2 separate regions of the Homo sapiens genome follow, and region 1 is linked to region 2. The links are contacts of gene promoters, found by promoter capture Hi-C in blood cells and fetal thymus (Javierre and others, 2016). All regions are on one chromosome and are shown on one strand. Each heading gives the region's core, a stretch centred on a gene start or on the middle of the fragment in contact. The rest is flanking DNA. Distances are from core to core; before and after follow the strand shown.

What was found. The method cuts DNA at HindIII sites, captures the fragments that hold promoters and counts their contacts. A CHiCAGO score of 5 or more calls a contact.
Region 1: a fragment that was not itself captured here is called in contact with the fragment with the promoter of PCDH8 in region 2 in 2 of 17 cell types (M2 macrophages and M1 macrophages); the score reaches 5.6 in M2 macrophages.

The regions. Positions count from the first base shown.
Region 1 is chr13:53,173,507-53,180,719 of GRCh38, forward strand. No RefSeq gene overlaps it. Among named protein-coding and RNA genes, the nearest start is that of LINC01065, 25 kb to the left of the region's middle. The HindIII fragment of the contact is 1,444 bases long and covers 4,028-5,471 here.
Region 2 is chr13:52,843,360-52,850,570 of GRCh38, forward strand. PCDH8 (protocadherin 8) reads right to left here and starts at 5,281. Exons shown (of 3, transcript NM_002590.4): 1 at 2,447-5,281; 2 at 2,066-2,273; 3 at 1-1,574. The coding sequence starts at 5,077. The coding sequence ends at 1,201. RefSeq lists enhancers at 3,466-4,354, 4,355-5,244, 5,375-5,669, 7,015-7,211. The HindIII fragment of the contact is 1,116 bases long and covers 4,891-6,006 here.

The DNA of each region.
Region 1 (7,213 bases), core at 3,500-5,999, 330 kb after region 2:
ATGTTGATGACTTTAAACCTGTATTTCTAGCCTAAACCTCCTGAGTTTTATTCTTATATATCCAAATGTTTACCAGCCATCTTTGCTTTTTTGGGCCAATAGCACAAGCCCATGAATTTCAAGATTAAATTCATGATCTTTCCTTCTAAATCTTGCTCACACATTTTCTGTCTTCATTGATGCCACCAACATCTACTCAATTACCCAAGATAGGAAACTGAGGATCATTTTGCTGATTCTTGAGTGTCTTTTAAGACAACTCAAATATCACTTGCATAAGGAAGCACCTTTTGACCACCCAAGACAGGGTGGTTGCTCTCTTTTGGGTTCCCATAGCACTCTGTACGTATCTCCATCATTGTTCAGCCATATATTAATAATCTATTTTTCTGTTTCCCTTATTAGTCTGTAAGCTCCTTGAGAGAAGTGACCCATCTCTTATTTGGCTTTGTAAGTCAGCACTGAGCCCAGAGTCAAACACTCAGTAAATGCTTAGAAATGAATTAATTAAGAGGACGTACATTGTACATGGCTTCCTGAAGTTCAGATGTAGTGATAGTGACTTAAAATATTCTGATTTCATGGCCCATGAAAGAGCAGAAGGAAGAAAGCTTTGTCCAGTGTGGTCTGCTAACATGAAATTATCTTAAAAGTCAGACCTTAATGCTGATTCTATGTCACTCAGTAGGAGGGGAATGCCAACTGTGTGGTAATAGCCTATATTCTACATGTCCTTTCTAAACTTGAAAATCTTCCTCTCTGGAGAAAAAATTCTATTAAGTTAAACATTTAGCTTTTAAAAAAATAATGTTTCAGAATCAAGTAATTAATAATTAATGGCATCTTATGGCAATTTGTGTTAGATAGAAGTATAAAATTCCTGAGTTCTGGTGGAAGCATAAAGGACAAGAATAGTAATACTTTGCCCATTATTGTTTAAGATAGAAATACTTTTAAAATAGGGACTAATTCAAAAGGAGTTAGAATATGTCTCTCTGTCCTTCACCTACCAAACCTCTTTTCAAGCCATTGTAGTGAGGTTTTTTCATTCTTCACAGTCAAATGAATCAGAATTTTGTATCCCCTCCCCTCCTCCTGGGTTAAGATCAAGGGAGTGCTTCCTCCTACTCTATGCCATGTAAGAAGGACTTGAGAGAAAGTACAGTGTTTGTCAGAAAGGAAGCCTGACATCTCACCCTGGCTGACTGTTAGCTGAGCTATAGAATCCCATCTGTTCTTGCAACACCATGGGAGCAGAGCCAAGGGCAGAGAGGCTAGGGAGAAGTCAAACTACATCCTCTAGAGTCTGGACCTAGAGATCAAGCCCTGGCTGTAGCTTGGAAAATCTTAAAAGCAAGAGGCTTGTGGAGAAGCCCCAAAGGCAGACCAATGATAGAAGGCCACAGTGGGAGCGTCGTGTACATCCAGATTTTGAAGAGGCAGAGGTGCAAGTTTTCTCATGGGCTAACTGGACATGGTGACAAGTTTAGAGGTATCTTGAAAGTCCACTGCCTAAGAGATCTGATGGTCAGTACAAGATGGTTTCAATAGTCAGGCTGAATGGCATATTCTACTGGGGTAGGGAAGTGAGGTGCATAGTCTGGGAATGGTGTTGGAGATGCTGTGCGTGTGTGTGTGTGTGTGTGTGTGTGCGCGCACACATGTGTTTGTGTATGTTTTGGGTTGAGGTCTTTCCCCATAGTCCTGTGTCCAGAATTTATTCCTTCTGGTGGGTTCTTGGTCTTGCTGACTTCAAGAATGAAGATTGAGAGGTGAAGCCAGCTGGACTTCCTGGGTTGAGTGGGGACTCGGAGAACTTTTCTGTCTAGCTAGAGGATTGTAAACGTACCAATCAGCACTCTGTGTCTAGCTAAAGGGTTGTAAATGCACCAATCAGCACTCTGTAAAAATGCACCAATCAGCACTCTGTGTCTAGCTAAAGGATTGTAAAAGCACCAATCAGTGCTCTGTAAAATGGACCAATCAGCAGGATGTGGGTGGGGACAAATAAGAGAATAAAAGCTGGCCACCCCCAGCCAACAGTGGCAACCAGCTGTGGTCCCCTTCCACGCTGTGGAAGCTTTGTTCTTTCACTCTTCATAATAAATCTTGCTGCTGCTCACTGGGTCCGCACTACCTCTATGAGCTGTAACACTCACAGGAGGCTCTGCGGCTTAATTCCTGAAGTCAGTGAGACCACGAACCGACTGAGAGGAACAAACAACTCTGGATGTGCCACCTTTAAGAGCTGTAACACTCACTGCGAGGTCCGTGGCTTCATTCTTGAAGTCAGTGAGACCAAGAACCCACTGGAAGGAATAAATTCTAGACACGGTCCCATTCTCAGACTTACTCAATCTTACTTGTTGAGAAGCTAGAAAAAGAAGTTAGTGGGCCGGGCTTGGTGGCTCATTCCTGTAATCCCTGTACTTTGGGAGGCCGAGGTGGGTGGATCACTTGAGGTCAGGAGTTTGAGATTAGCCTGGCCAACATGGTGAAACCCCATCTCTACTAAAAATACAGAAAATTAGCTGGGCGTGGTGGCGTGCACCTGTAATCCTAGCTACTCAAGGGGCTGAAGCGGGAGAATTGCTTGAACCAGGGAGGCAGAGGTTGCAGTGAGCCAAGATCATGCCCCTGCACTCCAGCCTGGGTGAAAGAGCAAGACTCCGTCTCAAAGAAAAAAAAAAAAGAAAGAAAAAGAAGTTAGCCATGGGACAGGCAAAGGAATAAGGAAGACCTAGCTAAAAAGCTGCTATCTTTGTCTGTTTGTGCTACTATAACAAAATACTTCAGACTGGGTAATTTATAAATAAGAGAAATTTATTTATCATATTTTCAGATGCAGGGAGGCCCGAGATCAAGGGACTGGGAGATTCAGTATCTAGCGAGGGCTCTGTCTCTGTTTCCAGGATGATGCTTTGAATGCTGTGTCCTCACATGACAGAAGGACAGAAAAGGAGGAATAGTTCCCCCATACCACTTTTTCTAAGAGCACCCATCACCTCCTGAAGGCCTTACCTCTTAATACTATCACATTGGGATTAAATATCAACATATGAATTTTGGAGGACACATATACCCCATAGCAGCTGTGTTACTGAAATGATCAGGTTGTCTGTTGTACTCAATGCCATTGAGGCCCTTCTAGACCTCCTTTTCACCTAATACAGCAGTCTGGCAGCTGCTATAAGTGGTTTCTGCTAATAGCTCACAGCTTTCCTGTGCTGCTGAGAATTGTGCTTGGCCAAATAGGAGCCATCTCACCCAGGAAGCTATGAATGCCGCCTTAGTAAACCTAAGACATCTAGTATTTTACAGGAATTGTCGAATTTCTGCTGCTGCTGGCATAGGATGTTAAAAATGTTAGAAGTATTTTGGGGGGCTGTATATTTCTGGCAATCGTGAACTAAAAACAGCTAAACAAAATATTATTTTCTAAAAAGTCTACCAAATCAACTAGAACTTTAGTGGCCAAGGTGTTGGAGACAAGAGAAGTACACAGAGGAAATGATTTTCAGGGCTGCTTTTTCCCTTTAAGGCATTTGCCAATTCCAGAGCAGCAGCAGAGAGGCTGAGAAATTGAGCAGAAATTGATGGCTGAAAGGTCAAGAAGGCAAAAGAGCTCCTGGTGGTCTCATGGGCTAGTGGACAAAAATTGGAATTCAGAGCCCGCTCGAGTACGGAGATCTTGGCAAACCCTCCAGGGTTTTAATTAGGACTTTGGATCGGCTACTCCATAGGAGTGAGGGTGGACTAGTAATAGACCAGCCACACAAAGCTGAGCACAGATTTAAATCAGTTCATTCTCAAGTCAGAGTAAGATGATCTTTCCTTACCCTGTCAGAAGCAAAAGTAAATGCTGTCTTGAAGAAGCTGACGTTATCCAGAATTCCAAACGACTTCTCAAACGAAAGTTTATGTGTGGCATTTAATAAAAAGTTACCAGGGCACTAGTAGAATGGTGAACTAAAACCATCTATACAAAATGTACTTTCTAAAAGTCTGTTTGAAGAAATTAGAGGAAAGCTTAATGTTTCTGGAAACCAGGAGAAAAAAAAACAGTAAAAATAGACTTAGAGGAGATGCAGGTATTGAAATTATCTGACATAAACTTAATAAACATGATGAAAATAAAAAGCAAGGTGGAGAATTTAAGAGAATAACTTTTTAAAAACTCAAAAAGAAATTCTAGAAATGAAAAATAACAACTGACATTAATAACTCCCTAGATAGGTTTAATAGCAGACCAAAAATAAAACAACAACAAAAAAACCAAAACAACAACAACAACAACAACAACAACAACAAAAACCTGCTAAAGAGAGAATTGGCACTCTGAAAAATAAAGCAGAAGAAAATCTCAGCATAAGACAAATATGGAATATGGTGGATAGGCCAAACAGTATGTACATTTAGAACCTGTCAATAAAATTTCTGCTAGAGAAGCCATGATTGAAGGGATAATGGCTAAGAAGTCTCCAAAAATAACGAAAGATACCCAGAGTCCAGAAGCACTACAACTCTCTACTAGGATACATATAAAACATACCATACCTAGCCATATCATAGTACAATTGCCACAAACCAAAGAAAAAAGAATCTTAAAAGCAGACAGAAGCCAAAATAAAACTAATGCGACTACTCTAAAGAAAAATGGAAGCTAACAAATTATTCAAAGTTAAAAAATTGCTTCAAGTTATTTATTTAAACTTTTGAAGAAAATAAACTGTTAACCTAGGATTCCATCCCGGTAAAAAATCATTTAAAAAATAAAGCAAACTAAATAACTTTAGGCCAACAAAAACTGAGATAATTTTATTATCCAGCTGACTTGTATGATAGTAAATACTAGAGCAAGTTCTTGAGACAGATCCAGCCAGAAACAGGGAGAAAATGAAAAGCAATGCAAAAAATAAATATATGGGTAAGTCTAGATAAATAGTGAAAGTATATGATAATGATGATGACAATGATAATGTTTTGTGGGGTTTACATATCTATGGGATAGACACATGAGAAAAACAGAAAAGGCTGGAGAACAGATCAATGGAATGGAATGGAATTATCCTCAGGTCTTTTCATTATGACATGGGAAAGGTCAATAATGCATGTTTTATTCTAGGGTAAACCCTAAAAGAATAGTAAGAGTATAACAAACAAGATAATAAAAGGGGAAATGGAATAATGCAAAATATTTAATGAAAAAAATAAGGCAACAATGAGAGCAAAGGAAACACGGGACATGTTGGGGGAAAATAGACAATGTACAGCATGATGGTAGATTTAGACCCATATACATCAGTAAATGGATTAAATGAAAAGACTAAATATTCCAGTTGAAAGACAAGTATAAACTAGATTAGAAAACTTTATTTTGCTTATATTAAACAACTTCAAAAGTGAAAAGGCAAAAAGGTTGACAGTAAAAGGATGACAAAGGTATTTCTTGCTCACATTAATCAAAACAAAGCTTTTTTGCTAAATTCATAGCAGACCAAATAAATATTAAGGCAATAGACATTAAGATATTAATAAATATTGAGATATTAATAGATATTAAGGTGAGAAAAATTAGTAGACGAATATTTCAGAACAATAAAGTGGTTAATTTGCCAGGGAGTAATACTGACATGACAATATTACGTGGATGTAATAACAAGCCTCAAAATTTATTAAGTAAAACTGACAGAACAAAAAAAGAGAATAAGATAAATTCACGATAGTTTTAGATAATTCTAATATACCTCTTTCAATGACTGACTGAATAAGCAGAGAAAAAAATTATTAAGGATATAGAATAATTTAACAACATATCCAACATACTAACTCAATTGACATACATAAAACACTACATCCAACAACTGCAGTGGAACCTAAGACAAGTCCCAGTGAATTTCCACACATTAAATTTATACAGGGCATGTTCTTTGATCACAGTAAAATTAAGCTGAAAATTAATAATAAAAAAGGTAACTAGAAAATCCCTAGGTGTTTGGAAATTAAGCAATATACTTCTAAATAAACCATGGGTCAAAGAAGAAATCACAATAGAAATGAGAACTTATTTAGGTTTTAGAAGATGACGAATATTGTGCTAAAATGAATACTGTAGGAGTCAAGTAGCTAGCCCAACGAAATGAAGTAGATTCTTTCTTTTTCATTCTCTTTCTGTTAAAATTTCAGGGAATTGTGTATCTGTGGTGCAGAAATGTCATGGTAGGGCTTTTGAAGTGTTTGTTTTGTGGTTGAGTGTATTATAGATCAAATGGCCAATTTAGAGTAGCTTTCTGGGACAAATAATAATAATAATATTAAAAACATTGACTGTTATGCTCAGGTGTAAAAGTGATTATTTCTATCACCCCAAAGATCTGTAAAATGGCCTGAGTCCTTTCATCTTCTTTTGTTTTGAGACAGAGTCTCCCTCTGTCGCCCAGGCTGGAGTGCAATGGCGTGATCTTGGCTCACTGCAACTTCCGCCTCCCAGGTTCAAGCGATTCTCCTGCCTCAGCTTCCCTAGTGGCTGGGATTATAGACACCCACCGTCGTGCCTGGTTAATTTTTGTATTTTTAGTAGAGACGGGGTTTCACCACATTGGCCAGGCTGGTCTTGAACTCTTGACCTCAGGCGACCCCCCCTAACCCCATGGCCTCCCTAAGGACTGGGATCCCTGGCCTTTTCCTCTTCTAATTGATGTAAAATGTTACTTTTCTGTGGATACAATTTGGCCGAGTTTTAGGAGCACAGTGAAGCACTTCACACCAGTATTTAACCAAGCACACTGTGCATAATAATTAAGAATCCTGCTATCTGTTTCCTTGAATGTGAAGGAAAGGGATAGAACAAAATGAGACAAACTAGATACTAGATGTTTTTGTGTGCAGAATAAGGACAAAGATGGTCTTTTAATGAAAACTTTTTTTTAAGTGGGCAAACTTGCAAAAGGTTGTTCCTTTGTAGAAAATATTACATTATTAAATAATAGTAATCATGCCAGTAAGTAATGAAATGGAGGGTGATGCTCTTTGCTTCTCTTTCCATCCCTCTGATGAAGATCATAAGTTTCCAATGCCAAAAACATTAAAGGTTTGTCATACTAGAGACCTTAAGAAGCCCATGAGGTCAAGACTTATGTGATGGCATTAATTGCTGTGCTCTGAGGACCATAGTCTAACATAGCAGGTTAACACAAATTAAATGTCATAGATT
Region 2 (7,211 bases), core at 4,031-6,530:
GTTTTTTTCTAGAACATTTTAAAGCGAATCCCAAACATCATGTCATTTTGCCCATAAATTTGAGTGGAATAGAGCTGATAGTTACTTTGGAGACTGGCTCCAGAGGAAGGCAAGGAAAGAGGAAGTAGGACAGAATGTAGTGGGAACCTATTATATTCCAAAAGACTAAGATGTTAGTCTTTTTGATACTAACACCCCGAATAAGCTGAGGGCTCTTTGGGACTACGTCTTCTTCACCTCAAACTCCAGCTTGAGGAGGAGGTACCAGCAGCTAGTAAAAGTTCTACAGATGCTTGTTTAATTAGTGAATGAACAACCCAAACTTAGCTTTCTTCACTTTTTGGTGGCTGCTCAATGAATATTTACCTAGTGAATAAATGAGAGCAGGGATTTTATAGACTAATACATATGGAGATGCACATAATTTATGAAATCAACACACGTTTTTAATACTTGGGTGACATTTTGCAATACTTGAAATCCTACAGGTTTAATATTGTCATGAACATTAATAATGCCCAAATAATTAGCACTTGAAAGAAGGTTTCATTCTGATACTCAAATTATTTGTGAATGTCTGACTATAGGCAGCTTCATGAAAAGCAATTGGCAGATTCTTCAAACACATGACAAATCTTTTATTACTGTGCTTATAAGTGACACGGTTTACGGAAAACCAAATGTAATTAAATAACATTGAACTTGAAATCTACCACAGAGTCAAGATATACAAGTTATACTTGGCAAGGCAAAATTTCTCAAACACTAGGTTGTTTCAGGTGAAAGATAAATTTCAATTAAGTAATTCCAACATGTTTTGTTTTTTGTCTTACAGACAGTTCCTTTGGCAATAACTTCCACTTTAGCTTTTATTATATAAAAATATAACAAAATTTCATTATATACAAACATTACATTACACAATGTACAGGTTAAAAACACTAAGAAAATGGCAAGCCGCAATTGAAATCAAAGTCAATAGCATAAGAAAAATTAAATACTGCACACATTTCATAAAAATTACATTAACTACATTTTTGTTTGCAAATACCAAACAGTACCAATGTGATTGGAAATAGCTTCCAACAACTTCATTGTAAGGCACATCTTGCATATTTATATATACAACACTGAAACCGGTCAATAACTTAGGGGCTTCTCGGAGTGACCTGTATATGTGTGAAGACATGCAGCATGGGATTACACATTTTCATTGGCTCCCTTCTTCGGGGACAGGTACCTGCCAGGAGGGGACTGGTAGAGGGGTACTCCAATCTCCTGCAGGTCTGGGAGCCTCCCTGGACGGGGAGGGGAGAGCAGAGTGACTGTCCTGTCATAGTCTCTGTGCAGTACTTTCTCATAGACGCTCTGCAGCCCCACTGTCTTGGGCAGCTGGGCCTGGTAGTAATTGTCCCTGCGCAGAGGATCCCGAGGCAGTGACGTGCTCTTACAGAAGGTTGACATCTGGGCTGGTGGGTGAGGCGATGGATGTGCGTTGGGCCCGCTGCAGGATGGGCTCCAGCAGCGGTCAGAGTGGCCCAGGATCTTACACTCAGCGGTGCACGCCCACAGTCCTAATACGAAAGGGAAAAGGAAACAGCATGACGATTATTCCTGAGATTATACATATTCAGGCTTCCATCTTCAGCATGTCAGCCTGGGTCAGGGCAGCTGAAAGGAAAGGCTGTGCGCATAGATATACACCGTGTCTCAAGAATCGAAGGCACATTGCTTCCTGTAAAGCCATCTTAATGCAAAGCTGGTCCAGCTTCTTCAGCTGGAAGTGAAAAAAAAAATTGATAAGCAGAACCCACTTTTTAATGGCTAGCATCACCCATGCTGCTGCCTAACAGGATGAGGGTGTGTTTTATTCAAGAGCTGGAGTTGCCTCGACTTGGCATTTTGAAATTCACCGTGTGAGGCAGGCCCGTATCCGCAGCTGTAGGAGTGAGAAAAAGTGGGGAAGAGGGAAGGGGGCTGGGAACCGAGATTGAGAGGAGGCAAACAGTGGTGAAGGGGAGGGAAGGGAGGAATGCCGAATTTGGCGGGAAAGAAGAGTCCTCACCACTCTGCATGTGGTTGATGAGATCCTTTTTCAGAGCGTCCCCGCTGATGTCGGAATCGCTGTCGTTGAAATCACTGTCCCCTTTACCGCTGTCTTTGCCGCTGAACTTCTCTGCTTCTCTGCCAGAAATGGTGTTGAAGGAGTGTCCTTTCCACACCGCCACAGGGGGCGCCGGCTCCTTTCCAAAACCCGGGGAGGCACCGTAGGGCTGCAGCAGGGAATAGGGGAATGGGAGTGGGGGGAGGGTTGGATAAGAAACAAACAAAAAACAAGTGCGACAGGTTGTCTACCTGAATGCACCCACCCTACCCCTCCAGTCTCCCTTCCCCCAGCCTGTCCGCGGAGCTCGGAGGGGGGCGCCCAGCCGAAGGAAGGCCTCACCTCGGCGTGCGCGCCGCGGAGCCGCTGCTGCCCCTCGAAGTGACAGGCGCTTTCCCCAGTGGCGCTGCCGCCCTCTGAGCCCGGCACTTCGGCCGCGGCGACCGCAGGCGGAGGCGCGTCCGCCGCGGGGCTGCCAAAGGGCGCTTTGCCGGTGCCAGGGAAGGTGAGCACGTCGAACATGTTGGGCCTGGGCCCGGCTCCCCGGGCGGCCTCCTCCGGGGAGCCGGGAGCCGAGGCTCCGCCGCCCGCCGCCCCGGGCCGCTCTTCCCGGAGGGCCCCCCCTTTGCGCACCTCCTTCTTGCGGCGGTTGCAGGTGGTGGCGATGGCGATGATGGCGGCCAGCAGCAGCGTGCAGCTCCCGGCCAGCACGATGATGACGATCAGCGGCGTGTCCCATTGCAGCACCGACCCGGACACCCCGAGCCGAGAGCCAGGCGGGCGGGAACGCTCCGGGCTTCCTGCACTGGCAGGCGCAGCCGGCCCACGCCCGCCCCCTGCTGTTACCACGAAGCTGACAGTTGCGGTGGTGGTGAGCGGGGGACGGCCGCCGTCGGATATGACCAGGAGCGCCCTGAACACGCGACCGGGTGGCTCCTGCGAGAGGTCGCCGGTGAGCAGTATCTCCCCCGTGCGGCGGCCGATGGCGAAGGCTTCGCGCGGCTCCTGCTGCTGCAGCTCGAACGCCAGCTCCCCGTTGGCTCCCTCGTCTGCATCCCGGGCCTGCACACGGGCCACAACCGTGTCCTTTGCGGTGCGCCCAGGCACCGCCACTTCTAGGGAGCCATTGGCTGGCGCCGGGTGCACCAGGACTGGCGCATGGTCGTTCTGGTCCAGCACGCGCACTTGCACTAGGGCGCTGCTGGAAAGCTGAGGGGAGCCGCCGTCGCTAGCTTGGATGCGAACGTCGAGTTGGCGCAGCGTCTCATAGTCGAAGCTGCGCAGCGCGTAGATGGCTCCGGTAGCTGGGTCCACCGAGACATAAGTGGACACGGCGCCCCCGGCGCGGCCCACCTCGGCCTCCAGCAGCCGGTAGGTGACCTGGCCGTTGCGGCCCAGGTCCCGGTCGCGGGCGGCCACCGTGGCCAGGTAGGCGCCTGGCGGGTTGTTCTCGCGCACCGACACCTCATAGACCGGCCGCGTGAAGAGCGGCGCGTTGTCGTTCTCGTCGCCCACACGCACCGTGTAGGGCCGCACTGTGCGCAGCGGGGGCGCGCCGCGATCCTCGGCCACCAGCGTCAAGTTGTACTCGGCGATGCGTTCGCGGTCCAGCGACGCCGCGGTCACCACCAGGTAGCTGCCCGCGTAGGCCGGCTGCAGCCGGAAGTGCTCGTGCCCATAGAGGGCGCAGCGCACTTGCCCGTTGGCGCCCGAGTCCCTGTCCGAGGTGCTGACCAGGGCCACCAGGCTCTCGCGCGCCGCCCCCTCCGGCACCAGCGAAGTGGCACCAGCCTCCGGCGTCCCGGCTCCCGCCGGCGAGCTAGCGTCCGCTCCCCCGAGTGCAGCGGCGGCGGCGGCAGCGGCGAAGGGTGAGGTTGCCGGCGCGCCTGGGGCGGCCAGCGGGGTGATGGCGATGTCGGGTGCGTTGTCATTGACGTCTCGGATGCGCACGATGACCTTGCAGGTGGCAGCGCGGGGCCCGGGTCCGCGGTCCTGCGCCCGCACGTCCAGCTCGTAGGTGTCCTGACGCTCGTAGTCCACGGGCCCGGCCAGGGTGAGGCGGCCTGATCGCGGGTCAAGCCGAAAGAGGCGGCGCGCCTCCGGCGGGGTGCGGGCGCCAAATGCGAACACCACGTCGCCGTTAGGTCCCTCGTCGGGGTCGGCTGCGTCCAGGTCGAGAAGCAGGGAGCCCACGGGCGCGTCTTCCGCCAGCTCCACTTCGGCCACGGCGCCCTGCGGGAAGGCCGGGCTGTGGTCATTCGCATCCAGGACGCGCACGCTGAGGGCAGCCGTGGCGGAGCGCGGCGGGCGGCCGCCGTCCTGGGCCACCAGCTCCAGGCTGTAGGCGGCCTGGCTCTCGCGGTCCAGCTCCTGCAGCAGCACCAGGTCTGCGCACTGAGCGCCGTCCGCTCGCGTCTGCAGCTCCACGCGAAAGGGGCTGTGCGGCTCGGCCAGGCGCACGGTCTGCAGCCCGTTGGCGCCCACGTCCTCGTCCACCGGCACCTCCAAGGGGATGCGCGTGCCCACTGCCGCACCCTCGGACACCTCTACCGGGATCTGGGCCCTGGGGAAGCGCGGCGCGTGGTCGTTGACGTCCCTCACCTCTACCTCCACGTGCACCAGCCGGAACTGCTCCTGCGAGAAGCTGACCACATCGAAGGCCAGCACGCACTGCGGGGCCTGGCCACACAGCCGCTCGCGGTCCAGGCCGGCGTCCCCGACGGTCAGCTGCCCGTCGCCTTCGCGCACCCGGAGCAGAGAGCTGTTGAATTGCTTCATCAGGCGGAAGCTTGTGTCACCCGATACTTTCATATGCAGGTCCTCGGCCAGGGTCCCGATGACCGTGCCGGGGGCATCCTCCTCGAAGGTGCTGTATCGGACTGTTTTGCTCTGGGCCACTGAGAGCACCCAGCAGAGGCTGAAGAGCTGCAAGGGGAAAAGGCAGGGGCTGCCCCAACGCCTCACAGGACTCATGCCTCCAGCCTCAAGTGCGATCCGAAAGGCTAAGGAAGTCTTCTCTGGTTTCCAGGTCGGGCGTCAGTCTCAGGCTCTCGGAATCACGCTCTTTGCGAGCCCTGTGCGGGAGAAGTCTGCGGGTAGCAGCTCCGAGCCTCCAGCGGGCTCTGAGGACGCGCGGACCCGCCCTCACTCTGCGCCTCTCCGTCTCTTACAGAAGCTGCGCCGCCTCGCGCCGCCTTTGCCTTTATAGCCGCCGATATGCTAATCACCCGAGCCGGGTAGCCAATGGCCGCCTCCCCCTCGCGTCGCCCCTCCGCCTGCCTCTGACAATCCCTTTAATGTGGAAAGGCTTAGAGGGGAAAACAAGAAAGGAAAATTAGGGAATCTTTCTTTTGTTTAACTCCTTTTGCTTTTTCCCCCTTTTCTTGTCAGCACCCTGCATGTAGAGGAGTTGGCACAGGGCTCCAGGAGTAAAAGGAGCGGATGGTTTTGTTAATTGTCGCCTGCCTCCCTCCGTGCCGCGGCTAGAACTAAGTGCGAACACGCTGGGGTTTCACCCCAGTGGCTCCTGATTCCGCCTTCCCCCAGCCCCTGCCAACACACACACTCTGCATTTTGCACCTCTGACGCTTCCAAACCCTTGCAGCCCCCTACCCACAGACTTGCTCTGCTGAATGAGGCTCTGCTTTCCTTCTCTCCTAGCTACGGTGCCTGGAATAGCCTCTCGATTAAGAAGCCTGAAGGATAAGGGAAAATTGATTTTATTCAAATTTGTGTACTCAATTGTGTTTTGCTCGTGTGAGCCCCAGTGATCAGAGCTGCCACTTCCCTTTCAGAAAAGAGCCCCGCGATATGTTAGTATGCACGTCACTGTCCAAGTGGCCTTCTTAAGCCCTGGGAGCTAGCAGGCAAGGAAAAAAAAGTTCCAAATAGGATTTAGCATAAGCTTGAGGAGATTTGGAAAGGTTTCAAAGATCAGACTGTATCAAAGGCTTATGAAGCCCTCGTTAGCAGTGGAAATAGAATGGTGTGGCAGGCGATCCCATTGGAGGCCCCAATGTCTGTATTATTTCACTGTGACAAGCTAAGGGGAGAGAAAGTTGAACAGTTTCCACAGCGGAGTTGGACTAACTTGAATATAATGAGCAAACGCCACATGTATCCATTATGTTCCTCTATTCATCCCCAATCACTGCCATAACTCTCCGGCTAAACGGTGATGGGCGCTGAATTCCACACAATACCCGGCTCGTATTAAAGTGCATTTAGAGAACTTTTTCCTCCTGATGCCTTGTTCCGCCTATTTAGAGGATTTTCTTTCTGTTCTAATAGGGCCACTCTGGGAAGCAACACTCGTCCGGTTCCAGAAGAACAAAATCACAGCGTGACGTTGAAACCTGGCAGGAACGTGGGGGGAACTTAACCATCTGCTTAGGAAAGTGTGGAGCTTCGGCACTGCCAAAATCTGGGCTGGGCGGATCCTGGGGCTGGCCGGGCGCTGCGCTGCCCCACAGATAGCCCCCTCCCATCCCTGACGGCCAGGGAGATGGAGCTCGGATCTGCAACAAGACGGATTCTTAATGATTCTTACTGAAGGGCTTTATTGAGCAGGCTATGCAAATACACACGAAGGAGGAAAGGTAAAAAACAAAAGCCACTCACTGGAAGAAATTTTTCTTTTTAGGCGATAGGTTTGGTAAGTAGATTGAATTCAGTAAACATTCTTCAGAATCCCGATTTTGGTCCTGCTGTCAGCGTCCTATCCATGTTTTCCTTTCCCTCAAACTCGAGGGAGTGTGTTTTGGGTTTTTTTTCAGAAGAGGGTCAGGAGTTTCCTTGGAGTAGGGAGACCAAGCAGGGAGCTGGGTGGCAGGGATGAGAGGTGCTTGGAATTGTCAGAGAGCGGAACATGCAGCTCCAGCCATCCATAAATACAAGCTCTTATAAGACTGGGGAGGGGGATGATGAGTGGCTGGAGACTTCCTCAGAGGGGTGTGTCTCTGGGTTCCCTTCTCCACCTCTTCCACCTTGTAGTCTTGGGAATGCTAAAAGCAATAAGGCCAGGCATCTGCAGCCGCGTGGGGACGTGGAAGGAGGAGCGCCCCCTACAGGAGCCCAAATCGCAGCCCTTTCTTCCGCTGTCTTCCAT